Regions from separate parts of the Homo sapiens genome. Here region 2 is linked to region 1. Evidence: promoter capture Hi-C in 16 types of primary human blood cells and fetal thymus (Javierre and others, 2016). All regions are on one chromosome and are shown on one strand. The core of a region is centred on a gene start or on the middle of the fragment in contact, and the rest is flanking DNA. Distances in the headings are between cores, read along the strand shown. Region 1 holds the start of GNL3L (G protein nucleolar 3 like). Region 2 overlaps NBDY (negative regulator of P-body association).

Region 1 (3,654 bases), core at 558-3,057:
AGGAGTCTACCCTGGGGAAAAGGGGCCTGAGAACAGGGATTCTTACCTGAGTGTCTATATGGATTGAGATAAGTACAAAATCTTGGAGGAGGGGGTAAAAATCTGTGCCTGCATATGCCTGGGGTCTATACCTTGGTGATTTGGGTTGGGGGGATTGCCATCTGTCCCTCTACTCTGGGGTGCAGAGAAACTGGGGAAACCCACAAAGTGGCTGTGTGCATCTCTGCTGCATGGGGAAAGAATCACAGATCTGTTTATCTCTAGATTGTGGGGATGGGTCCTGCGTCTCTTCACCCTGGAGAGGGCTGTGGTACAGGATCGATATGCCTGATTCCACAACTATGCAGCTTTGAATAAGCGGGTCTGCACCTTACCTGCAGTGAGCTATTCTGGACCCTTCTATGGAAGGTGGACTGTGACAACTTTCATCTTTTATGCTGGTTGAAGTCAGCGGCACACTAACACTGAAAGAAATAGGGGCTCTGGTTCTCTGCATGGGTGGTGTGTGGAGGGGGCTGGCAATGCAGCTATAAATTAATAGATCAGCCCTAATACTTGGGGGTGGGGGCGTCTGTGATTCTACCCTGGGTGGAGAGAAACAGATCTGAGCTCCACTACCTTGGGTAAAGGGGAGAGACCATACGCACTGAACTGCCAGGTAATCAGCGATGTCACTCCCTCTCAACATTACAGGGAGGGAGACCTGCATATCTGCTCCTGTGGGGTATCTCCCTTGCTACATTTAGTGATTCTAAATCTTTGGGGGAGGTAGGGGGAGGTAGGGGGATGATCTGTGTCTACCTCAAAGGGAGAGGAACACATCTGAGCCCCTCTACCCCCACGGCCCCTCAAGGGGCAGACCTGACTGTCTCTTCATGGATTAAGGTCTGTTCCTGTTTGCTTCGAAGCATGTTGGGTGCTTCGAAAAATTACACATTCGGTAAAACGGGGGCTACGGAAGTAGGGATCAGGTCTGATTCTCCACAATGGGGACTCACTCTAACCTAAGAGGAGGGGGCAATTGGCTTAGTTGTCCATAAGCTGAGGCCTGTAACTGCAACCACTTTGGGGACGGGTGAGTTGGGGAGCGATACTGAGGGCTCTGAGTCTACGCGTATGGGGAGGAGGTGCCCTCCCTCTGTATATTAAATGTTTCTAAGCTCCTCTATGCTGGTATGGGGGCAGATACATCAAAGCCTCTGTCTGTCCTGAGGAGGTGCCTCGAGACGGCTGTCTAGAGCCAAGCCAAGGAAGTGCCTTAAGTCGGGAGAAGTCTGCGCTGCTCAGCTGGGTGGAGGGAGATGTCTCTACACGGTTGGGGTGGATGTCCCCCATGCCTTTGGTGGGTCGACTCCTGTCTATACAAGGTGAATGCAGAATGAAGCCTCACTATCTTGAGGACGATCAACGCTTCACCACACAAGTGAAGTTTGTGCCTCTCTACACAGTGTGTCCCGGGTCTACACCTTTCTAGGTGGGATGGGGCAATGCCCCTCTCCCGGCAAACTCCACTCCGCGAAAAGGCAATTCGGCGCGTCTCCACGTGTGCCGCGATCCCTGCCCCTCTTCCGGTCCCTTCTACCCTGGAAGGGATCCTGCTGTTTACCTCTCTATTCCAGGTTGGCGGGCATCTCTGGTTTCACATCCAATAGACGATCCTAACTGCCCGGCCGTCTAGGTGAGCGCACATTGTGAGAAAAGAGGAGAGAAGTTTCTTACTTACACTTCCGGCGGGGATCTGAGAAGCGAGGGCAACACGACAACTCGGTTGAGCGAGCAGAAACTCTCGCGCAGCTAGGCTCCGACTTCCGGATCCCAGGCCGGCGGCGCCCGACTCCGCCCACCGTGCGGTCTCCGCGGGGGGGGGGGGGGGGGGGCGGAGCTTCTGACTGACAGCTCACGCCCGCCCGTCCCTTCTTCGCGACCACGCTGGCCCCGCCTCCTGCCTGCCCCGTAGTTAAGGAAATAGCGGAGGAGGGAGAAGGAGGACGGGGAAATGACCGGGAAGAAGCGGCGGGTCGACTGGTGCGGCCATATACCTTACTTGCAAGCCAAAATTTTGTCTGCGGGCATCTGTCTGGGGTTAAATATGCGTGCTCCCAAATCTCAATAACCAGGCAGTCACCACGCCCGAATCAGACAAGGGTGGGGGATGGTGTCTTTGTCTGCCTGGAAGATGGCGACAGCAGGGTGTGAGAAAATGGCCGCCTGGGTCACGTGTCTGGCCGAGTATTTCCCCACCTGAAGTGAATTGGTTAGCTATTCCCAACCACCTTCCCGGGTCCTTGAGCCCCAGACCATCCCTGAGCACTCCTAGCTTTTTCTGCATACGTTCAGATCTATGGCCATACCCAACCCGAGCTGGAGCAGGAGCCAGAACGACTAGAAGCCTCTCCCACACTAGAAGCCTCTCCCACCCTTTTGCCTTCTTCCCCTCCTACTCCATCCTTCCCTCAATCCCGGAGCAGCGTCTGCAGAAGGGAATGAATTTATATCTCTGGAGTGGGGCAAGTAGGGGTTTCTGAAGCCATCTCAAGGAGCTGGCTGGGAAGTGAGGTCTCCCCCACAAAATAGTAAATATTAGTCTGCAAATGTTTTCTTCTTGATGGTTTAATTCCAGCCCCTCCTCTTCCTCAAGCCTAAACCCTGGGGTGGGGCACAGAGTAGGTGGAACTCTGTGCCTCCGAGGGTGGGTTTGTTTCTCCACTTCAAGCACAGACGGGCTGAAAATGACTCCATCTGTCCCTTTATCCCTTACATAAACAGGACTCACTACCTCTCTACATCGTTGGAGGGCTTCTAACCTCTCATCCTAGAGACACATGAAATTCCTCTGGACCTGAAACCAGCCCTGACCACTTTCACCTTTCCCCCTGCATTTGCAATTTTGCTCTGTTTCTCTAAGACCTAACTCTTGTCACTTCGATGAAACCTTCTCTGACTTTCGCAGATGAGTTAGAAACCCAGAGCACCTTACCTATACAGCTAAGCTAGCACTTATCACAATACTGTAGTTGTTTATGTGACTGTGTCTCCACAGGAGGGTGAACTCCCTGAGAGCAGGGGCCATGTATCTTCAAGCTTTCAACAACACCCAGCACAAGACTGGTATGAGGCAGGCTTCAACAACTGTTTGTTAAATGGGTGAGTTTACAGGCCTGCACCACAAAAAATGGGAAATGGGCTGTTTAGTAGATGGCATTGGGAAATTTGGCTCTCCATGAAAAGAAATATAAAACTGGATCTCTATTTATTCCACCTAAGAGGGTAGACTGTGAATGTGAAAGGTAAAACTATGAAGTTAATATATGCAGGAGAATATCTTTGTGACTTGTGACTGGGGAAGGACTTTTTAAACAAAATCCCAAATGCACAAGATATAAGGGAAAAAATACAATGAAATCTTGTGGAAACTAGTTATTACGACTTTGGAAAACAATTAGGAAGTATCCAGAATAGCTGAAGATGACCCTGGGACCCAGCAGTTCTAGTATTGGAGATGATTGATTAATAGGTAGATAGATAGATAGAGATCACCTCTAAACTTTAACTCCTAGAGAAATTCTTATACACTTGCTCAATGAGCATGTGGAAGAATGTTCATTGCAGAACTGTTTGTAATAGAGAAAAAAATGTGAACAGCCCAAAATTCCA
Region 2 (3,654 bases), core at 657-3,156, 2.3 Mb before region 1:
GAGAAACAGAGTGAGCAATGAGGTTGAGAGCAAACTGGAATGCAGAGTGCCTCAGGTGGACAGCTGGCAGCCTTGTGAGTGGCCTTCCGTGGCTTCACAGAAGAAGAGCCACCAGCCAAGAGAAAGCGTCAGCCCCTTAAGACTGGGTTTGCACCACATCTGCACAGAGGCCTGTTGGGCCAGGAGGCTGCCATGCTCCCCACTGCGCCCACCCCAACCCCATCCGCACGATCTGCCAGCAAATATTGGGAAGTGAGGCAGAAAGCGACAAGAAAGGTGAACAAGAGGGAACCTGAAAGCTGAGAAACTGCCCCTTAAGAGTTGCCTAGACAACCAGATCTGGGAGTGAATGGTGTCTGGGCAGGTGCTTGTTAGTATGCATGGTGAGATGTGTATGTATCTGAGGACCTTTGGAAGCACAGATGAAGACAGGAAAATGTTGAGACGTAATGGGAGTTAAAAGTTAAAAACGAGGACCTCTGAAACTCAGAGTTGCCATGTCACTCCTAAAGACGCAGTCAGATCTTCCTGCATTCTTTTCTTCTCCCATTGTACCTAGGCAGGGCCGGAGGTGCCCCGTGGTGCATGCTACCTACTTATGAGAAAAGAATCTGCATTTGTTGACAAGTGACCAAAAGGGGGTGACTCCTGTTCCATAGTCATGTGGGTCTTCTTCCCAGAATGCCCTGAGAGTAGAGGCCCACACACGAGATTGACACTGCTCTTGTGATGTGAGAGTGGTTCACACACCCCTGAGTGTGGGAATCAATACCCATGGGGTGAATTTTCTGTCCTATGAAGCTCTGCTTGTTCACAGTGTGGTCTACACATCCAGGAAGATTTGTAACAAGCAAAGAAAGAAAACATTTGCAATATTCGAAGAGCTGTGTGTTCCATACTGCTGCCCAGGCATCAAGCAGCATGGGTAGCATATGTAACCTTTAGAGCAACGCGGTCATGGCTTCGCATCCCAAAATGGGCTCTGTATGATGGCCCAAGTGAGGCTTTCTTATGTCTTCCTGGAGACCCTAAAGGGGCAGCATAATTTGTCCTCGACTGTCTCATTCATTTTTCTGGATGAATATCCGGCAAGCACCAGAGTTTAGCTTGAGGACCTCAGAGAGCTCTGTATCAAACAAAGGCACAGACACTCCACCACACCCCCCACCAACACACTCCAGGCTCAACCTCCATTTCGACACGCAGAACAGGAACAAAGATAGGGCCCAGGAGAAGGCAAGCACTGTCTGGGCTCTGGCTACCCATGCACATGGGAAGAATGACCAAGATGCCAAGGCAAATAACTGGTGAACCACCACGTTCCAGTGAGCATGCACGCTCAGTAAGACATGACAAGTGGCTCTCTCTCCAGGAGAGCCACCTGTGAAAAAACCTGGAAAATCCCTCCAACCCCTGGACCCCTATGAGTGCCTGGGCTCCAGAGAGAGAGGTAGCTGAAGGCCTCGAACAGGAGTCAGTCCCATGCAGTCCCATCTCAACAAACATCCGACCCAACTCCCTGCTGCTCCATGGCTCAACAATGTGTGGATGCCTGTTGGACCTGGCTGCTTTCCATCCAAGATTTTGTCCCTTCCCCAAGAGGAAGAGTGCTACCTAGGGACAAGTGTGGTGCATGCCATCATGAGGCCTGGTCTCTTGCTTTGGGGACCTGGGCCAATTCCTAGAGGAATCTGCAGTGGCCTGCATGCAGGCCCACACACTCACACATCCCTCTCCTGTACCCCATCATACTGCCCCCAGTACAACCTACCCCCACCATGACACAGCCCTAAGGGTGGGATTTCATGAGAACAGACTCCTCTGGTTCACTGGGTACCCTGCCCAGAGAAGAATCCAGAGGGAAGGAGGGAGGCAAAGAACCTCCTACTGTTGCAGGTTCCCCCAAAGTGACCACGTAGGTGGGGATCCCTGCTGTAGGTGAGGTGGGTGATCCTTGGCCAGTTTCTTCGTTGTTTCTTTGCTTTTTGTTTTTGGCATTTGTTTTATTCCGTTGGCAGCAAATGGAGAAAGACAAGGCAAGGTGGGGGAAGGAAAAGACGTGACTGCCATTTGCGGAGCCACAGTGCCACCCAGAGGAAGATGTTTCTGAACATGACAACAGGCTGCAGGGACACTCGCCTTCTGCCAGGCACAGAGATCAGTGAAAATGTGCGGGGCTGGGTGGACTCTGCTTAAGCCAGGGTTTCCCCAACTGGGGTTTAGAGCCCTAGAACAAAGAGTGCCTGCCACTGGGACCCCTTGGAGAAGCAGTTACTCTAGAGGCCCTGACACAGGGCAGCCAGGCAGCCCCAAGACGAGTCAGTCCACACAGTGAAGCTGCCCCCCAGCCATTTTGAGATACGCATAAGGGAAGCCACTGGCCACTGACAGCCAGAGAATGAAGTGGTTTACTCTGGTTTCTTCTGTGGGCAGTTACAGCTTGCCCTCCTTGGCTGGGGCCACAGTAAGGCCAGAAGGCCCCTATCTTCCTGGTAAAAAAAAAAAAAAAGGAGCTACGGGGTGCTGAGTGTGGGGCGACTCATGCCCGGCAGTTCCTGGAAACTGCCAGGGGAAGCCATGGTGGGCTGCCCCAACTGCCCTTTCTTACATGCAGCTGTGGAGCCAGGGCACCATCCTGGGAATGAGCCCAGGCCAAGGGCCAGTGAGGAGCTCCTCTCTCATCCTGCTTCAGTCTGGGGGCCCCATGCCACCATCTGTTTTGTGCCCCTGGGCTTTCCCCAGCACTTGTGCCCAGCTCCCTCCCATTTCCAGAAACAGTTTCCACTTGATGGCAGTATGGCTCCACAAATGCCAACTACAACCATAACCTTGCTTCTCTAAGCTGATGGTCTCTGCCTTCTCCCATGTGAATAAAGAGGAAGGAGAAAAAAATAAAAAAGATAAGGAGAAGAGAAAGGAACAAGCCACCTGGTCCCAGGCTGACAACCAAACTCAGGGGACTCTAGCACCAAGGACCAGTAGCCTGGAGACCCTGCGGGAATGCTATGGAGGCAGCCAGCCTTTGCCCTTCCTTTGGTCCTCTCTAGGTTTCATGGCTCCCGCAGGTGCAGAAAGTAAAAGACAAAGAACACATTATCATGGCCTCTGGGAAACCACAGGAGGACTGGGATCATAGGGCTGCAGCTCCAGGACGAGGCGCTGGCCACTCGGCTGTCTTATACAAGGATTTGCCCCCAGACTAGGAGACTTCCCAAGGCCTGGAACTGCAGGTAGAGTTTGCCAACTTGGGATCATAAATGGAGGTCACCAGAATGGGCCACTGGGGCCACCCACTCAACAGGCAGCTACAGGGCCTGAGGCCAGAGTCTCCTCACAGGGGACACTCAACACCTCACTCAAGTCTGACTCTGCTTTCACACAGGCAAGGGTGAGAGGAGGGTGGCACAGGTTGGCTGGGGAAGGCCACCACACACCAGATTCTCATGGCATCACACAAGGACAAGGATCCCAAGGGGACTTTATCTACCCCTACCCCAAAGTGGGGTCCCTTTTTAAGCAGCTTGACCCAGGATGCTCCAGTTTCACACCTGCTGCTTGGGCCTATCTGATAACAGACTTCCTGCATTTATGTTCAGAAGAAGGCCTTAGTTGCCCAATAAATGGCATGATGACCCACACCTGCAGCCAGGAATG

The links. Contacts are between HindIII fragments. The CHiCAGO score rates a contact against its expected background, and 5 or more counts as called.
Region 2: a contact is called between a fragment that was not itself captured here and the fragment with the promoter of GNL3L in region 1, in 1 of 17 cell types (monocytes). The highest score is 5.2, in monocytes.

Annotation. Positions count from the first base shown.
Region 1 is chrX:54,528,372-54,532,025 of GRCh38, reverse strand. GNL3L (G protein nucleolar 3 like) reads right to left here and starts at 1,807. Exons shown (of 16, transcript NM_001184819.2): 1 at 1,607-1,807. RefSeq lists enhancers at 1,402-1,661, 1,672-1,731, 2,182-2,231, 1,886-2,406. The HindIII fragment of the contact is 4,164 bases long and covers 1-3,083 here.
Region 2 is chrX:56,787,471-56,791,124 of GRCh38, reverse strand. All of the region lies in intron 2 of NBDY (negative regulator of P-body association), which reads right to left. Among named protein-coding and RNA genes, the nearest start is that of NBDY, 60 kb to the right of the region's middle. The HindIII fragment of the contact is 4,764 bases long and covers 1-3,654 here.